Regions from separate parts of the Homo sapiens genome. Here all the other regions are linked to region 1. Evidence: promoter capture Hi-C in human tissues and cell types (Jung and others, 2019). All regions are on one chromosome and are shown on one strand. The core of a region is centred on a gene start or on the middle of the fragment in contact, and the rest is flanking DNA. Distances in the headings are between cores, read along the strand shown.

Region 1 (2,688 bases), core at 67-2,566:
GGAGTCTGGGGGAGAAGCGGGGAAGGCAGGATGGAAGTGGTGGGAATAACACCATGTATTATTCCTGTGGAAGACCCAGAGTGGTAAGAAGTGGAGGGTCCTCCTGTTTCCCTCACGGAGTCCCCATTAAGGCCCCACCCAGCTCCAGCTTGCCAGTGGTCATCCCCACGGTCCCTTATCTTCTCTGGCGGTGCTGTCTTCCCCTCACCAGGACATTCAGTTGGTGACTGTCCACCCCTCTGATAAGGTGAGTGGGGGCCAAGTGTCTGGGCTAATAGAAGCTAGAGGGTTTCTGAGTAAGCCGCTGCTGTCACCATGGCCATGGCCACCCATCTGTCACCTGCTCATAGCGCTTCTAGGAAGGGAAGTTTCCCAAAGGTCACAGTCAACCTAGAGGGTGCCACCCACCTCCCTTGTTGGGCCACCCGGCTGGTGCCCAGACCCTGGCCAGTGACAGGGTAGAAAAATAGCTCGGGCGATTGCGTGTGTGACCACGGCTGGCTTTACCCGGATGCAGGGTTCTCACGGCACACAGTTGCCTGACTGAGCCACGTCTTTGTCCGTGTTTGCATGTGCCTGCCTTGTTCCCCCTGTCTGAGATAAAACTCCCGAGGCAGCCAACGCACTCCACCTTGTTTTTCTGGCACCTGCCCCAGACACCTGCCACAGCTGCAGGAGGAAGACATTGGCAGCTGCAGAGGTCTGACACAGGGTGCTCAGGAGGACGGCTGGGGTCCGAGATTCCACCCATGTACTCTGGGGTCTGGGGGTGGCCTTGCACTTTCCTGTCTGGCTTTTTTGCTTCTTCCACTTAGATTTGGGAGGAGAGTCCCTGCCCAGCCCTTCCCACAATGGCTGCTAAGAGTGAAGGCTGGATGCTATAGACGCAGGACTGAAGCAGCTCTCTGCCCACAAATTCCCTTCTTCCCAGTACACAGCAAGGGGCGGCCCCCCTTCCTCTGGCCACCACTGTCTGCCAAGACCCTCAGCAGGCAGTGCCTCCAGGCTGACTTCACCCCCTCCCAGGGCATAGCCCCCTTTTCTCCGCTTGTTGTTCATGCTTGCCTTCCAACCCCAGTTTAAAGACAACACGCTCCAAAGCAAAGTTAAAATCTGCTCCTTCCTTCAGCGAGATGGAAGGAAGGGCAGAAGGAAACATTCCCTCCTTACTTACTGTCCTCGATGTCCCAGGGGAGGATGGGGGACCTGGGAATCACTTGGTGCTCGTGCAAGGAGGAAGCCGGCAATGAGTTTCTGCTCAAGTCCATGCCAGCCAGAGAAAGCCACCCTGACCACGTCCAGAAGTCAGTGTGTTGTGAATCCCAGCAACTGAGCAGGCTCCAGCAGGGATGGATGAGCTCACCAGGCAATGGCCTAATGGGTTAACTCTTTGTGAGCTGCTGGCATGGGTCCTCGGACTGTGGCTTTCTCAGCTCTGCTCAGCCACAATTAGATGAATCTTGTGAAAAATTCATGATGCTTCTCTGCAGTCTGTCTTCAAGTTTCATGGAGGCGTGCGTTCCGTTGGTGCCTGGGCAGGGCAGCTTCTCCTGACCCAGGCTCAGAAATCAGAGGACCTGGAGTTTCTGGGTTGGTGGAGGTGTGTAGTGGCCATGGTGGTGGGGATGAGTTGCCAAAGAGTGGATCAGACCCTCCGGCTGACTCAGGCTACACTGGCTCTGTTCAGTGCAGGCCTTAATAATTTGATCTGGGAACTCTCTGTGTTCTGGATGTTGGAGGGGGCACATGCAGACTTAGAAAACATCCTTGGTTGCAAGATGGCAGGGACACTTCTTGGAACTTTCCAATGCACGGGTGGGCACCCTATGTTACAAACTGCCAGGAGCCCACAACACGACTTACCTCCATCCCAGGCCTGACATCTCAAATAGAGGCAAAAGAGCTTGTTCCCCATCGCTCTTCCAATCATTCCTCATGGTGCCCTGTTGCTTTTTATGGGATGCCTGCTGCCACAATGATGAGAAGAGAATGATGCAAATCAGTGCAAGGAGGATGAAAAGGTTTTCTCCTCTATAAACCTTTACCAGACTGTGCTTCGGGAAGCTGGGTGTGAGCTGTTGAGTGGCCAGTTCTCAAGATGCTGACGGATACACTGAGGTCAGCAAAATTGCCTATGATTCTGGAAGGCATGCTGGCTCCTGCCCTGGCCCACACTAACCTGAGAACGTGGGCAGCTGTTGTTCCTCAGGATAACTGGTGGGTGGGCATCCTTGCTACTGGGAACAGTACCCTGAGGGGCTTCCTCTGTGGTCTGCCGGGAGGGCTTTCCTAGGAGCCATCCAAGGAAGCTGCTGTCAAGGCAGGTATGAGACTCTCCCATATTTGGCATCTTGAGTTCCTCATCTGTGCAATGAGCAGGAGATTCTGAGCCTAGAAGGCTCTGTAGAGGTTGCTGTGTGATCCATGCCTAGAGAAGCAGAGAGCTAGGAGGATGAGCCTGTCCCCTGAGCTGCTGTGAGGGATCAGGCTGAGTACGCCCTCTGTCCTCTGTGAAGATGAGCGTCTCTGCTCAGGGCAATGAGCAGGGAGAGGCCTGCCTTGAGTGTCCAGGGGAACTTGACTTTGAAGGTTTTTGAGGATGTGAGTTGCTTTGCCTTAGGTGCCTCTGACTTTATACTCAAATCAGTTTGTAAAACCAAGTGGCCTGGCTCGCAGAGGAACCCTAGA
Region 2 (2,688 bases), core at 126-2,625, 1.2 Mb after region 1:
TGTAGGTAAAGCGTAATAGTCACCTATCATGACTTCAATAGTATTAAATTGATGACAGTACATGTAGAGAGACTGTAAAGACATTTTGGAAGTAATTAATAAATATTGGTGATAATTTGAATGTAGATGATGACAAGGAGGAAGGTGTTCATAGTGACTTGTAGAATTCTGGCTTGAATTAATGGGTTTAGTTGCGATTACTGTGATGGAGACTACTGGGTATGGAGCATCTGTAAATAGGGGTCATAGGGCAAGATCGAGTTTTAGATAATATTTAAGTTTGAGGGACCTGTGACATTTTATTAGGGATATCAAAACATACATATATATATTATATATATATATAGCGTGTGTGTATATGTATTTATGTATACATGTGTTTCTGTGCTTATGTGCATGTATCACATACTCTGGTGTTGAAAATATGAGTCTGGTGCCAGAAGTGAAGTTGTAGATTGGAGATAAAAAGTTGAAAATTGCTGCCATATAGATGAAAGGGTTGCCTAGGAAGAGAGTGAGAATGTATTTTGATGAGAAAATTGTGTCCAGGGCTGAGCCCCAAGAAAATCTAACATTTAGAGGTTGGATAGAAGAGGAGGGACAGGCAAAAATTAAAAGATGCTTGATAATTAGGAAGCAAACTGGTAGTGCATGATGTTATAGAAATCTAGCATTGTTTCAAAGTGCAGTTGGGAAGGAATTGTGGTTGGCTATGTCTAATGTTCTGAGAATGCTAGTAAAGCTACCTTGTTGGCAAAAACTCCTGAGATACACTTTAAACTACTCTTAATTTCTTACTTACTTGGGAAGAGGTTTTAGCTGCCACTGGAAATTGGGGCCTAAACAGGGAAAGGATCTCATGAAAACATGTAACCTATAGATTTAGGGCAGTTTTCCTTACCTTTTCTTGAAGAAGCATAGCCCAGAAAAACTGTTCTAAGGGTAAACTTAGAGTACAACTGACACAGGATCAGCTCTTAGGAAACAGTCAATAGCAACATGATGCAAACATGAATGTTTGTCTTGTCCTCTTTAATGTTACTCTTTTCTGTGGTGATAAAACATTTCTTTGTATGTCATAAATCAGTACTACTTCAGAATACTGCAGACTTATCTAATTTGTCTAATACATTCTGTTCACTAAATATGAGTATCAGAATTTGAAATTTTCTATTTAGAATGTTTGAGCCATTCTTCTGGACATTTCATTTTTCAGTTTTTCCTTTTGCCTCATCTTAGATCACAGCAAAGATACTCATTTGTTGGTAGTGCCAGGAAGCAGGCAGTTTCCATGGTAACTGACAGACCGAGTTTACTGTGGAAATTTCCGGAATTAACAGAGCTGCATTGCAGAAGGATGCATAAAGCAGTATTCATCTAGAGATCGTAACAGTACGGACACAGAAGAACAGTTGCAGTGATGTGCAGGGTATGTCTTACCTTTATTTTCCTGTCTAAGGAAGATTAGTCATATATATATATATATATATATATATATATATATATATATATATATATATATATATATATATGCATGCTGAGGAGACAGTAAAACAGCTTGGGGCGTTTTAGTATATGCTGGCTTGATACAGTCAAAGTTGCTTAGGAAAAAGAAGGAAGAAATGATTTGGGAAAGAAGGTATATTTGATAGCATTGGGAAGAAATCAAGATCAGATGATCGAGGTAGAAGAATGTGATAGTGAAATAAGAGGAGAAAACATACTTCAAACTAATTAAATAATAAAAGGTTCTTACGGATAGTGGTTCTAGGCACAAGAAGATATTTATTTATTTATTGAAGGAAAATAGTAGACATTGTCAAGTTTGAGAAATCAAGTTCTCATGTGCAGGAAAAAGAAATCTGTTAAGATAATTAGCTATTACTTGCTGAAAGATAGGTAGATATGAGAGATGTCCAGGATATTAAACAAGGAGGTTTGCTGCCATCTTAGCGTACTTACCTAAGTGATGAGAGAATCCTAGAAGGGTTTCTGCCCCTAATTCCACTCTCTGTTGATTGGTGGGCCATTTTCAAGAAAAATTCTGAAATGTATCTTGAGATTAAATTCTGGAAACAGAACTATAGGATTTGGGCAGATAATTGAAGGTGCTTATCATATAGAGCATAATTATAAATGTAAAAGAGAAAAAGGATATAGAAAATATGATTTAGATTATTTGCATGATAGATGCAATTTAGGTTGCTAGATACCATTTGGTATCATTTATATCATGTAGTCAGCAAACTACAGCTCATGAGCTGAATCCATCCTGTTTGCTTGTTTTTGTAAGTAAAGTTTTATTGGAACATAGCCACACCCATCTGGCTGCATAGTTGCAGGAGACTAGTGGCTTGCAAAGCCTAAAATATTTGCTATCTGGTTCTTTACAGAAAAAGGTTGTGACTCATGATTTAGATGGTGTACTGGATTTTTCAAGGCTTCTGTGAGATTACCACAAACTTGGTGGCTTAAAACAACAGAAATTTATTCTCTCACAGTTCTAGAGGCCAGAAATCTGAAGGTGTTGGCAGGGCCATGCTTCTCCCGAAGGTTCTGGGGGAGGATCCCCCCTTTCTTTCAGCTTCTGGTACTGCTGCTCTTCCTTGGCTTGTGGCAGCATAACCGTAATCTCTATGGTCTTCTTCCCTGTGTCTGTCTTGTGCATCTCTATCTTCTCCTTTTCTT
Region 3 (2,688 bases), core at 76-2,575, 1.1 Mb after region 1:
GTATGATGGTATTTGGAGATGGGGCCTGGGGCCTTAGGGAGGGATTAGGTCTAGATGAGGTCCTAAGGGTGGAGTCCTCATGATGGGATTAGTTTCCTGTCTCCTCCTCTCCCTCTCTCACCTCCCCCTCTCCCAGTCTCTCCCTTCCTCTCCGCCTCTCCTCTCCCCAACCCCCCTCTCTGCTATGTGAAGACACAGCAAGAAAAGCGAGGTCAGCAAACCATACTGGCACCCTGATCTTGGACTTCCCAACCTCCAGAAATGTGAGAAATAAATGTTTGTTGTTTAAGCAACTTAGTCTATGGTATTTTGTTACAGCAGCCCAAGCTAAGGCAGTAATCGATATATTAATATTGAAACACAGTACATGCACACATATTTTAAACAAATATTTCCTGAAACACTACCCACCCCTACATCTGATATTTCCTCTTCAATCTTATTGTGTTTTTTTTTAACGCTGGTTGTAACTCTATCAAATGATTTCACGACTCACTAATTGGTTATGCAATGCAGTTTGAAAAATTCTGTTCCAGAAGAAATCCTTGTGAAATGGCCTGATAAATACGTTGTGTAAAATTAAAATCAAATATCTCAGCTAATGATTGCTCTCTCTGTGGTATATTAGCAAAAGAAAATAATTAATTAGATGCCACTGGGGAGAAAGAATGGCTTGCCCTACAATTCCCATCCTTGGTCCTCTTCTTCCTCTAAGGTTCTGGGATTTACTGTATATATAAAAGTGTGTGTGTGTGTGTGTGTGTGTGTGTGTGTGTGTGTGTGTAGGTTTCGCAATTAGTTTTTACGTAACTTCAATGTTTCAGAAAAAGTGTAGAAAGCAAAGAATGACTATTTTACAAGATAACAAGTTAAGATTTCTTCTTCCCTAGTCTTAAATAAATTATTTATACGAAGTATTTGTTGATGCTGCTGTTTTAAGAAGTGTTAGGTGCATAGGGATTAGATAAAACATTTTTTTCTGTTTGTTTTATGTCTAGATACTCTAACTTCTTGCTAGGAAGGGTAATAATGGCTGCTACATAATCCTTTGCAATGAAATTCTACTCTATTTGTATTGGTCTTAATTTGTGTGAATCTTAATTCTTTCAGAGAAAGAAAGCTAAAATAACAGACAAGATTAAAGGCAGCAGGTCTGATGTGTGGTCTTCCTTCCATAGTTAAATATGTGTCAACAGCCCTATAGCCAGAGATAAGTAGACTCAATCTCAATAGTTAAATCAAACCAATCAGATCATGGCTAGTTATAACCAACGTAATAGAATATTCTGCCTCCCCTGACCTCCTTCACCACCTCCCCAATCACCTCCAATTTAATGACAGGCAGTCAGAAATGATTCCAGACCAATGAAAGATTACTCACCTATGCAGGTGGGTCTTGGGATCTTCTCATTGACATGAAGGTATATTCCTGCCAGCTCTTCCCCAAATTCTATTGAATTAGTCAGGTCAGATTTGGGATGGGAAATGCCTGCTATAGAGAGAAAGATGTATGGTGGGCCTGGATGAATAGGGAAGACTGGGAGCTCAAGCTGTGTCTTTCAAAGGAGCACCCTACGCATGAGGGAAAATATGAAGGCTCTGGACACTTGCAGAAACTCACCTTAGAACAGTGTGTGGAGCTTGTAAGACACCAGTACTCACAGGATGACCTTGACAGATGGTAAAGGCCATGAAAAGAAGAGTCTAGGCAGGTGGACAGAAAGGTCTGTAGACTACCTGGCAGGCTGGTGTGAGAATCATGATGGGGATCCCACCAATGGTTGGTTGACAAGTGTGGTTTAGTAGAAAAGAGCATGGACTCAGAACCAGCCACAGCTGAGTTCCATCATAACTCAGCCCACTTATGAGCTATGTGGCAGTGGGTAAGTATTTGATCTGACACTCACTTTCATCAGGCTTAAAATGAGAATACCATCATCAATTTCATAGATTAAAGAAGTTACTCCGTGCAATGTACCCACAAACAGTTCCTGGCACACGGAATACTTTCAATACAAGGAAGTTCTTACTGTTAATTCTGCTAGCTCCAACTTGCCCCAGTTCCCAACTGTGTCCCTAACGATTTCTTTCACCTGGCGATTTTCAGTTCAGCAGATGTCTCTATAAGTGCATGGAAAATGCCTCACAGTTTTCCAGTCCTTCTACCTCCTTCCATCAGACTAACCCACACCCTCACCTCCTGAGACCATTTTCCCATAGGTCTCCAGCATGAGATCCCAGTATTGCTCCTTTTGAGTGGAATCCAGTTGTCTCCACTGTTCCTGGAAAAAAAAAAAAAAAAGCAATACAATACCATGACTCCAATGAAGGTGTTTGAACCTGCCTTCCCTGCCTAAAGGAAAGCTGAGAAGACAGAAACGTGCCATAGGATCCTGGCCATCGCAAGACCTGAGAAATCCCAGCAGAGTGGTTCAAGGGACAAAGAGGCCAAAGGGAAAACAACAGTCCCTATATCAGTGTTTCTTTCCTTGGTAAGAAAACATCTAGGCTTTACATTCTGCACCTCTTCAGGTGAATTATTTAAAAGTGGAGAACGTATAGAGGGCAGGAGCCTTTTCCATACTATTTGTTTTTATTTGGGTTTTTTTTTTTTTTTAGATGGAATCTCACTCTGTCGCCCAGGCTGGAGTGCAGTGGAGCAATCTCTGCTCACTGCAACCTCCACCT
Region 4 (2,688 bases), core at 60-2,559, 1.1 Mb after region 1:
CCAGTGCCCTTATAAGAAGACACACAGGTCGGGCACAGTGGCTCACACCTGTAATCCCAGCACTTTGGGAGGCCGAGGCGGGCAGATCACCTGAGGTCAGGAGTTTGAGACCAGCCTGACCAACATGGAGAAACCCCATCTCTACTAAAAATACAAAATTAGCCGGGCATGGTGGTGCATGCCTGTTATCCCAGCTACTCGGAATGCTGAAGCAGGAGAATCGCTTGAACCCGGGAGGTGGAGGTTGCAGTGAGCCGAGATCGCACCATTGCATTCCAGCCTGGGCAACAAGAGCAAAACTCCGTCTCAAAAAAAAAAAAAGAAGACAACGACCACATAGATGGGCACAGATATGGGAACAATAGACACTGGATTATTAGAGGGTGTAGGGAGAGGTGGGGGTTAATAAAAACTAACTATCCGGTACTATGCTCACTAACTAGATGAAGGGATCCATACTCCAAACCTCAGCATCATACAATATTCCCATGTAACAAATCTGCATATGTATCCCCTGTATCTAAGAGTTGAAATTTTTTTTAAAAAAAAGAAACTAAAAGGAAAAGAGATGGAAAATTTTGTTGAGACATGTTTTATAATGCTTACCATTCTAGTGGATATAGCAAGTAAAGTCTCATGGAGTATATTAGCAGTAGGAAATGTATTCATTCATTCCATATAGGCTTGCAGTTAAACAAATTACCTCAAAAAAACAAAACAAAGAAGACCATGTAGAGACACAGAAGAGAATTCCCTATGAAGACAGAGGCAGAATTGGAGTGATGTATCTACAAGCCGAGGAATTCCAGGGATTACCAGCAACCATCAGAAGCTAGGAAAGGTATGGGATGGTTTCTGCTTCAGAACCTCCAGGAGGACCAACTCTGCCCATACTTTGACTTAGGACTTCTGGCCTCCAGAACTGTGAGATAATATGTTGTTTCAAGCCATCAAGTTTGTGGCATTTTATTATGCCAGCCCTAGGAAAGCAATTCAAGAGCCAACAGAAAGGACAGTAAAGTAGGGTAATGTTTAGAAAGCCTGAATCTTGAGAAGGAAGTTGACTTCCCTCTCTCCACCTGAACATTTGCACAAGATTCTGTCAGTGGAGATCATATATGGATTGCATTAGGTATAAGGTGGCCTAGAGCAAGCCACAGCTATTAATAGAATCCTCCAAACCACCAAAATGAGAGAAGTACCAAAAGGAAAGTAGGCAAGAAGCTCAGAAGGAAAGTCAGTGACACTGGAAGTGGGGGAATGATATCAGTTTCAATTGTCAACCTCCCATTTTTCATACCTCATTGTAAATAATAATAAAAACTTCCCCAAAATCAATACTTCTTCACCAAAAGCTGTTGTTCTCAAAGGTTTTATCCCAGAAAGATGTCGGCAAAAATGGAAGAGTCAGGACCTCCTAAAATCCTCTCCTCCATAAAACAATGAGAACATTCACAAAAACTGAGTCAGAATCAACTTTCTTAGAATTCTGGAAATTAACCAAAGGCTTTCAGCAATCCAAGAAGTGTTTACTCAAGCAAAACAGCTGAATCTCAGTAGGAAGAACAGTCTATGGCCTTTTAACTTGTCTATTCCCATCTCAACCCAACCCCTAGCTTGGAGGTTACCTATAAAACCAACAGACCACAATCACAGTGAAACCAGTAGCCTGGAAACCACTGGAAGGGGCAAAATGGGGTTGGAGCACCTTCAAAGCCCTGTTCCCCACCCCCCCACAAAAAAACTGTCATTATTTTGCCTGTCCAGGGATTCCCTGGACTCACAAGTCTTTATCTCACCTGAGTTGGAACTCACCCAGGGCAACAGTCTTTTTCCCCAGGGCATTTGTTGAAGACAATCAAAGACAACTGCTTAACACTGCAGTTTGTCTGAAGCAGTAGATAATAGTGGTGCAAACAGTAGGCTAATCAAAAAGCTTAAAAGGGCAAGTCGGAGAATGAGATGGCCATAGGGGGCTTTGAAAACCCCTGACATGTTCCTGGAAATCTAGGCCATGCCTATGTGCAGATCTGTGCACCCATCCACAGCTGTGGACATGCTCAAGAGAGTTGAGAAGGCAGTACACTCTAGCTAACCTTGAGGTTCTAGGAAAACAGGGGAGTGAAATCTAAGCAGAGTTTTAAACTGCCTGGCTAAGCACTGAAGGTGTGCTCCAACACTTGCACACAGCCACTCAGCCAAGACTTTGTGACTTATTGGTTCTAGGCATTTGAGAAAATCTGTCCAATTATTTGGTGACCTCTAAGCTAACAGAGCAGGCCACTTCAGTGGCCATACTTGACAAAGAATATAGACTTTACAGAATCAGTTCAGAAAAGTCACTAAACAAACCCTGGCAAGAGAGAGAATATGATTTGCAGAGTGGCCACATTATTTAAAATGTCCAAGTTTTCAACAAAAAAATTATGATATACAAAGAAACAAAAAGCAATGGCCCATACACAAGGAAGAAAGCAATCAACGCAAACTATTCCTGAGGGGGATCAAATATTGGACTTGCTAGACAAAGACTTTAAATCAGCTATTTTAAAGATGTTCCAATAACCAAAAGAAACCATGTCTAAATAACTAAAGAAAATTGTGTGAACTATGTATCACTGAATAGAGAATACAGAGAGAAAAATTATATATGTTTTTAAAAAAATAAAGTAGAAACTCTGGATTTGA
Region 5 (2,688 bases), core at 111-2,610, 1.1 Mb after region 1:
ACCTGGGAGGCGGAGCTTGCAGTGAGCCGAGATCGCACCGCTGCACTCCAGCCTGGGTGACAGAGCAAGACTCCGTCTCAAAAAAAACAAAAACAAAAAAATCAAGGTTAGGGTTTTTTTTGTTTAATCTCTTAATGTTCTTTCTCCTTCCTCCACCGCACCTCAACATGGGTAGAAGGAAATAAGGAAGGAGAGACAGGAGGGGAATGTTGAAGATGGACAATGTTTGGTAACGTTTCCAAATTCTGTGCCAGCTTGTAATCAAATGAAGTACAAAATTTCACAGAGTAAATAAGAACTTTGCCTGTTATGTAATGCAGTTCCATTACTGAGTACGCAGGTATATATCAGTAACTATCTTGAGTAGGTTTGCTGCCATTTGAAAGGCTTATGGAACTTGGGTAATGTGGCACAGCCTGTTTACCCATTCGACTTCCAATTCATTCACTCATTTTTCTTTCGAGAGCCTTTGCTGCAGTTGGTGTCATGAATCTCGGAGCTTGCCTGGGCAAAGATGCAGGGTGTGAGAGGTAGTTGTCTTTTCTTTCAGTCTGATTCAAGCAATGTTGATTGATGAGCCTCTTGGGCAAGTCTCAGCACTGCCTGCTGGAGGGTGCAGAGGAGATTGGAAAGGGAGCCTTCCCTTGCAGAAGGACAGTCTTGTGGGGAAACAGACACACACACTGATATAAAGCAGGGTGAAATTAATTAAGAGCCACATAGAGAGACGCGGGAGAAGAAAGAAGAAACAAGTATTGTGTGTGGGATAAGGAAAGCCCCAGGGAAGCAGTGGCATTGAGGGGGTTCTGGAGGAAGGGTAGGGTTGTGACAGGTGATCACAAAAGGCAGGGGCTCCTAGAGGCACAGGGCAGAGCAGCCCACGGTCTGTTCTCAGAGTTAACATGGTTTGGCTGCAGCTACAGGCCCACTCAGGTGAGCAACAGTGATAGGGTGAACTTCCAAAAGGTGACAAAACAATGATAGAAAAGTAGCTGGGACCTTTGTCTACTGGTCCCACTGCGAAATGGAAGATAAACAGAGAAATCTCCATTCAAACTTGCTGTCATGAATCCCAGACTCTCCTTAGGACCATCCCCCAAGCTGGCCTGGTCCTCAGACTCTCCAGAAGTTTTATCACATGTTCCCATCTCCACGCTCCAGTCCTACCAACCTCTAAGGGTGGGGCCTGGAAGTCCGTAATGTTTCATCACCAGCCAGGAAATTCTTATGATGACTCAAGTTTGGGAAGCACAGCATGAAGGTAAGAGGCAAAAGAAAAAAGTTAGACAGTGGTATTTGTGGCAAAATGAAGGTGCAAAGGGGATGGCAGCAGAGTTCAGAGAAGAGAGTTTTAAGTCTAGGGAATGGATAAAGCTGAGCTGGCCAGAAATGAGAACAGCAGGGAAAAGAGGCAAAACAGGTGACTTGGCAGGAGGGGTTCGCAGAGTGGTCTGGCCTGTGAGTGAGAGGCGGAGGGCCTAAGTGGGGCAAGTCCCTGAGATGGAGCAGCGAGGAATGTCAGCTCCGAGCTCTTCCCAGAACACTGGTGGAAGGCACGCTTGGCTTTGCTGACCAGCTTACCTGGCAGGGGGAAGGGGAAGAGGAAATTCTGCTTGAGGTTTTCCTTCCTCACTTTCTTAGTTTAACAATCACTTTATGCTGGGCTCAGTGGCTCATGCCTGTAATCCCAGCTCTTTGGGAGGCCGAGGCAGGTGGATTGCTTAAGGTCAGGAGTTCAAGACCAGCCTGGCCAACATGGCAAAACCCCGTCTCTACTAAAAATACAAAAATAAGCCAGGCGTGGTGGCGGGCGCCTGTAATCCCAGCTACTACGGAGGCTGAAGCAGGAGAATCGCTTTAACCTGGGATGCTATAACCTGCAGTGAGCCGACACTGTGACACTGCACTCCAGCCTGGGTGACAGAGAGAGATTCCATCTCAAAAAAAAAAAAAAAATCACTTTAAAGTTCTGGGACTGTTGGAGCTAAACGATGGGAATACACAGACATACAAAGTGGAATAACCAATATTGGAGGTGGCAAAAGGTGGGAAGGAAGGAGGGGGGTGAGGAATGAAAAATTACTTATTGGGTACAGTGTTCACTATTCAGGTGACAAGTGCACTAAAAGTGAGAATTGCACTACTATGCAATATACACATGTGAGAAAGCTGCACTTGTGGCCGGGCGCAGTGGCTCACGCCTGTAATCCCAGCACTTTGGGAGGCCGAGGCAGCTGGATCACGAGGTCAGGAGATCAAGACCATCCTGGCTAGCATGGTGAAACCCCGTCTCTACTAAAAATACAAAAAAAAAAATTAGCCGGGCGTAGTGGTGGGCACCTGGTAGTCTCAGCACTTTGGGAGGCCGAGGTGGGCGGATCAGTTGAGGTCAGGAGTTGGAGACAAGCCTGGCCAACATGGTGAAACCTCATCTCTACTAAAAAATACAAAAATTAGCCAGGCGTGGTGGCACGCACCTGTAATCCCAGCTACTTGGGAGGCTGAGGCAGGAGAATAGTTTGAACCCGGGAGGTGGAGGTTGCAGCGAGCTGAGATCATGCCACTGCACTCCAGTCTGGGTGACAGAGCAAGAGTCCATCTCAAAAAAAAAAAAAAAAAAAAAAAGAGCCAGATTAGATCCCCAGTCAGCAAGCCAGACTTTAAACTTGAACAGCTTCACATCTTTAG
Region 6 (2,688 bases), core at 50-2,549, 1.1 Mb after region 1:
AAGGTGATTTTTTTTTTTTCTTTTTTATGAAGGTGGAGAAGAAATAGCCTCCAAGTAGCAAGAAAACACTAGAAAAAATGTTCCCCTTCCAACGCCAATGCCATAGGGGTATGGAACTAGGGAGAGGACTGTAGGAGTTGTGATGTCCTCAGAGAGACTAGAGGTCAGTGACGCACACCGTAAAGATGTTAAAAGAGGTTGACAGTGGGGCATAGTTCCAGGTGACACCACCATATGTAGAGCTGGAAGGAAAGTCAGAAAAGGAGAGATGAGTCACAAGCAGTAGGGGTGGAGGCATGGAAGCACCAGCATACAACAATCTGAAGGTGAAATCCTGAGACACTGGAGGGACTTGCTCAAGGCCCAATAAGCCATCTGAGAGCCTCACAGTTGCAAAGGGAAAGACCTCGCAAGGTTACCTCCGCACCCATGAGGCTCACATGGGATGCGGCCACCTTTGGCTGAGTGTTCAGTTAGTGAGAATCCCATCCATTTTTCCCCTTCTCAATGTTTCCAAGATCCATTTCTTTCTTCTCCGCCTCATTGTCATGCCTCAAGCCCAGATTAATGCAGACTGATCCCAGCCGGGCTCTGCAGTGCTAAACTTTGCCCGTGATGATCCCTCCAGTCTGGAATTTTCAAACTAATCTTTATTAAATAACCTCTTTGCCCATATCCTTCTGTTGCTAATAAACAAAATAAACAGGCCCTTTTGTGAGCAGAAATGTCACAGAAGACATCTAAAAGTCCCAACACTTTTTATCCTGGTATTTTCTCTGGAATGAATTGTTTATCTCCCCACTTCCAAAGCTGACATCAAATGTTTTGCCAACTAAGATTTATAATTTAATAACGGTGTTTCTTGGGTTCATCTCAGTTAAGTCTCCAATATCTATTTCTTACTACAAAAAGTCATCATCTTGCGTTGTCCTGTACATTTCAATGACAGTCTATACATTGTTTATATTTAAAAGAAATATTCAATATGAACACTTGTTTCCAAAAATTTTCTTGCAGAAGTATCAAACTACATCTTCACTTTTAGTTCCTCTGAAACTAAATTTTTTTTAAGTATGGATTTTTATTATTTCTTTTTCGATTTCTCCCCTTTTGTCTACTTCACCTTGCTAGAAAAATCACTTAATGATTCCTTCATGGTATTATACATTTTTATGATCCTTTTATCTAAAGAATATTATGTAATTTCTCTACACTTTATTGGATTGTGCTAAGAGCTAATGTTCTCTATATTAGGGTCATTTCTTTGTGTTGTTTCCCTTGGGCGTGGAGAGCAGCTGAAGCCCACTGGTCTTGCTTCAGTGGTATGGCTGCCACATTTGTGTGTGTGGTCATTCTCTTAATCCATCTGCAACACCAGCAACCCTTATATACATCCAACAGAAAATTCACACCTACACAACTAAACAGCTTCATGTCTTGCCCCTCTTCACTCTAATTCGTGCAAAATGATGAGATAACTCTTTTCTATGTGTTGGGAATGATAGGAGAGGAGGTTAATAGGGCATAAAGTACAGGAAGCCAGAACTACCTGAATCCTGCCCCTACTGGCCACACCTCCCAGTAAAGTTCCAGAGAAGACACAATATTTATTCAGAGGACAAGGCAAGCCACAAAGGACCACACCCATATGCTTGCTACTCTCTCACCCTTCTCTCATCAGCACTCCCTAGAATGGTGGACCCATATCTGGTCTGCAGATAAGACACATAAAGAATAGCATCAGCAATCCTACCCCTCTTTGGGAATTAAGTGAAGAGGGAAGAGTGAAGTGATTTTGGTCTGAACAAGTGCTTCTTTTTTTTTTGTTTGTTTTGGTTTTTGTTTTGTTTTGTTTTGAGACTGAGTTTCGCTCTTGTTGCCCAGGCTGGAGTGCAATGGCGTGATCTCGTCTCACTGCAACCTCCGCCTCCTGGGTTCAAGTGATTCTCCTGCCTCAGCCTCCCTAGTAGCTGGGATTACAGGCACCTCCCACCACACCCAGCTAATTTTTTGTATTTTTAGTAAAGATGAGGTTTCACTATGTTGGCCAGGCTGGTCTTGAACTCCTGACCTCAGGTGATCCACCTGCTGCCTCAGCCTCCCAAAGTGCTGGGATTACAGGAGTGAGCCAGTGGCGCAATCTCGGCTCATTGCAAGGTCCGCCTCCTGGGTTCACGCCATTCTCCTGCCTCAGCCTCCCGAGTAGCTGGGACTACAGGCGCCCACCACCACGCCCAGCTAATTTTTTGTATTTTTAGCAGAGATGGGGTTTCACTGTGTTAGCCAGGATGGTCTCGATCTCCTGACCTGGTGATCCGCTCGCCTCGGCCTCCCAAAGTGCTGGGATTACAGGCATGAGCCACTGCGCCCGGCTCAAGTGCTTCCTTTTATATGACAATAAAAAGCTGGAAGAAGTAGCCCCCTGTGAAGGAAAAGGGTCAGTATATGAGGTTTCGGTTATAGATTTGGGCATGCCCGTGTTTGAGGGGTGATCTGAGCGTGTGCATTTCCTTATGAACATCAAACATCCATCATTAGACACAAGAAATAATAATGACGCCTCCATCCTCCTTTTAGGAAGAAAACTTGGATACACCTTCAACAATCAGAACTTTCACAACGTGTCTTTGGGGCAAGGACAGGAAGTGGTGGCTGAGGCTGCGCTGGACCTCGCTGCCAAGAAAGGTC
Region 7 (2,688 bases), core at 110-2,609, 1.1 Mb after region 1:
AAATAGAACAGACCTCCTACACACACACCCAAAATACAGTTCCAACATCAAGACTGATGATGCTACATACATACTAAGAGGGTATGAGAAAGTTTATTACTCAGATAACATGGTTTTCTAGGAAGAGCAAAGGAGCTCCCAAGCAGGCTGCAAATGGCTTGAGAGTGCCAGAAAAGGAGACTGCTTTGGGTATTATGATGCTTAGGGGGTGGGGCCAGGGTGAGGGTGTCTGTGCATGGGCAGGGGCTTGCCTGGTACAACTTCCCTCCAGCACCAAAAGAGAGAGTGCCCAGGGCAGAAGGGGAAGAGGAAAGGATGAGGTTTAAAAGCTATCAGCAGTCAAACATCTAAAAACGAAGTCAAGCTCTTTATTAAAGATGTCAACTCTGCAAGTATCTCTAAGTCAGGGGTGTTCAATCTTTGGCTTCCCCGGGCCACACTGGAAGAAGAAGAATTGTCTTGGACCACACATAAAACACACTAACACTGGGGCCGGGTGTGGTGGCTCACACCCGTAATCCCAACTCTTTGGGAGGTCGAGGCGGGTGGATCGCCTGAGGTCAGGAGTTCAAGACCAGCCCGACCAATATGGTGAAACCCCGTCTCTACTAAAAATACAAAAATTAGCCAGGCGTGGTGGTCTGCACCTGTAGTCCCAGCTACTCGGGAGGCTGAGACAGGAGAATTGCTTGAATCCAGGAGGTGGAGGTTGCAGTGAGCCAAGATCATGCCACTGCGCTCCAGCCTGGGCAACAGAGCGACACTCCGTCTCAAAACAAAACAAAACAAAAAACACGCTAACACTAATGATAGTTGATGAGCTAAAATATATATCTGTCACAAAAAAACTCATAATGTTTCATGAAAGTTTATGAATTTGTATTGGGCCACCTTCAAAGCCGTCCTAGGCCGCATGCAGCCCAAGGGCCATGGGTTGGACAAGCTTGCTCTAAGTGGTTTACAAAAGGATGGGAGGTCTACATGTTCTACATTAGGAAGGATGGCCCAAGGGAGGTTGCAGGTTTTGAACTGGTCTTTCACAACCTGTAGAGCCTTAACATATAACAATCGTGACCAGCACAAGAAAAGGAAGAAGTGGAATGTGGCAGAAAAGAAAACAGGACTTTACAGATGGTGGAAGTAGTATGAACAAGGAAATGAGTTGGGAATGAGTCAGGCACATTTCCAAGGTTGGGAGCAGATATGCTCAGAGTGGGACAGAGTAGGAGGACACATGACTTACTGGACAGATTGAAGAGAGGCACCAGATGAAGAGATCTGGCTACCAAGTTATACATTTGGACTGAATCCTCATAGAAATAGACAACCCATGGGCATTTTAAGAGTTGGCGTTAACACAGAGTACATGAATAATTCTAGAAACATTTTGAGAGGTGAACTGACAGGGTTTGGTGGCAGAGTGAGTTTGAGGAGGAAAGGGAGAAGTCACTAACTTTAGGTGTCCAAGCTTCAAGACCAGAATAACCATAATGCCCCTTCTTGCCCCTCTTTTCCATGTACACACCTACAGGCAGGTGTGGCTCAGTCTCTGCTGCTAATAATATCCCAAACATTTTATGCGCTAAATCTTGCATGTTATTGGGGCACTTTGCTAAGCTGCTCAAAATTCTTCCTCTTTCTTGATTTTTCCTGGGGGATGATCCAAAGCTCTAGACAAGAGTATAAATGAGACAGAATTGTGTAGATAAGACCATCTGGCCCCTCAATCCCCCAACACAATGCAAATGACAGCTTTCTGGAGAAACTGCATTTCAGATTCTCTGAAATTTCCCAGGTACTTTCATCAATGGAAGAATTCTCTAATCTGGATCGGGACATAGAGGGATCTGCTAAGAGCTGGAAAAAGTTTGTGGAGTCCGAATGTCCTGAGAAAGAGAAGCTCCCACAGGAGTGGAAGAACAAGACAGCCCTGCAGCGCCTCTGCATGCTGAGAGCCATGCGGCCCGACCGGATGACCTATGCTTTGCGGTAGGAAACAGGGTGGTGGAAGGCCCAGCATAGGCATGGGGCAAGGGCAACCTCAGGACAACTGGACCAGCAGGGCTGAGCTCCAAAGCCATGTGTATATAGTAGTTTCCTGGAGCTAGAGGGTGGGAATAGAAATTAACTAAACAGGCCAGGCGCGGTGGCTCACGCCTGTAATCCCAGCACTTCGGGAGGCCGAGGCAGGTGGATCACAAGGTCAGGAGTTCAAGACCAGCCTGGCCAAGATGGTGAAACCCCGTCTCTACTGAAAATACAAAACTTAGCCTGGCATGGTGACAGGCACCTGTAATCCCAGCTACTCTGGAGGCTGAGGCAGGGAATTGCTTGAACCCGGGAGGCAGAGGTTGCAGTGACCCGAGATTGCGTCACTACACTCCAGCCTGGGCGACAGAGTGAGACTTCATCTCAAAAGAAGTAAAAAATAAAAAAAAAAAAGGAAATTAAATAGCCATAGCCATAAAGAATCTCACTGGTGTGATATAAATGTTCTAAAACGGGGTTATGGTAAAGACTGTACAACTTGGTAAATGTATTAAGTTATTGAATAGTACACTTAAAATGGGAAAATCCTATGGTATGTCAATTACACCTCAATAAAGTTATTTTTAAAAGAAAAAAGAAGTTGTAGGCCGTGGAGTCTATACTGGATAGGAAAGGAGTGATTAGAGTAAGGGCATGATA

Evidence for each region. Contacts are between HindIII fragments. The study calls those that stand out against the background at their distance.
Region 2: a fragment that was not itself captured here is called in contact with the fragment with the promoter of PIRT in region 1 in 1 of the 25 tissues and cell types used here (dorsolateral prefrontal cortex).
Region 3: a fragment that was not itself captured here is called in contact with the fragment with the promoter of PIRT in region 1 in 1 of the 25 tissues and cell types used here (dorsolateral prefrontal cortex).
Region 4: a contact is called between a fragment that was not itself captured here and the fragment with the promoter of PIRT in region 1, in 2 of the 25 tissues and cell types used here (dorsolateral prefrontal cortex and spleen).
Region 5: a contact is called between a fragment that was not itself captured here and the fragment with the promoter of PIRT in region 1, in 1 of the 25 tissues and cell types used here (dorsolateral prefrontal cortex).
Region 6: a contact is called between a fragment that was not itself captured here and the fragment with the promoter of PIRT in region 1, in 2 of the 25 tissues and cell types used here (dorsolateral prefrontal cortex and lymphoblastoid cells).
Region 7: a contact is called between a fragment that was not itself captured here and the fragment with the promoter of PIRT in region 1, in 1 of the 25 tissues and cell types used here (dorsolateral prefrontal cortex).

Annotation. Positions count from the first base shown.
Region 1 is chr17:10,836,771-10,839,458 of GRCh38, forward strand. It overlaps PIRT (phosphoinositide interacting regulator of transient receptor potential channels), which reads right to left and starts at 1,317. Exons shown (of 2, transcript NM_001101387.2): 1 at 1,175-1,317. RefSeq lists an enhancer at 128-629 and a silencer at 2,326-2,550. The HindIII fragment of the contact is 18,169 bases long and covers 1-2,688 here.
Region 2 is chr17:12,068,421-12,071,108 of GRCh38, forward strand. All of the region lies in intron 2 of MAP2K4 (mitogen-activated protein kinase kinase 4), which reads left to right. Among named protein-coding and RNA genes, the nearest start is that of MIR744, 12 kb to the right of the region's middle. The HindIII fragment of the contact is 5,380 bases long and covers 1-2,688 here.
Region 3 is chr17:11,981,916-11,984,603 of GRCh38, forward strand. ZNF18 (zinc finger protein 18) reads right to left here. Exons shown (of 7, transcript NM_001303281.2): 5 at 2,198-2,282; 6 at 1,382-1,492. Among named protein-coding and RNA genes, the nearest start is that of ZNF18, 14 kb to the right of the region's middle. The HindIII fragment of the contact is 3,173 bases long and covers 1-2,688 here.
Region 4 is chr17:11,963,127-11,965,814 of GRCh38, forward strand. The region is part of intron 68 of DNAH9 (dynein axonemal heavy chain 9); the gene reads left to right. Among named protein-coding and RNA genes, the nearest start is that of ZNF18, 33 kb to the right of the region's middle. The HindIII fragment of the contact is 5,086 bases long and covers 1-2,688 here.
Region 5 is chr17:11,943,598-11,946,285 of GRCh38, forward strand. The region is part of intron 67 of DNAH9 (dynein axonemal heavy chain 9); the gene reads left to right. Among named protein-coding and RNA genes, the nearest start is that of ZNF18, 53 kb to the right of the region's middle. The HindIII fragment of the contact is 6,646 bases long and covers 1-2,688 here.
Region 6 is chr17:11,921,237-11,923,924 of GRCh38, forward strand. It overlaps DNAH9 (dynein axonemal heavy chain 9), which reads left to right. Exons shown (of 69, transcript NM_001372.4): 62 at 2,578-2,688. Among named protein-coding and RNA genes, the nearest start is that of ZNF18, 75 kb to the right of the region's middle. The HindIII fragment of the contact is 7,416 bases long and covers 1-2,688 here.
Region 7 is chr17:11,900,924-11,903,611 of GRCh38, forward strand. DNAH9 (dynein axonemal heavy chain 9) reads left to right here. Exons shown (of 69, transcript NM_001372.4): 60 at 1,796-1,989. Among named protein-coding and RNA genes, the nearest start is that of ZNF18, 95 kb to the right of the region's middle. The HindIII fragment of the contact is 3,725 bases long and covers 1-2,688 here.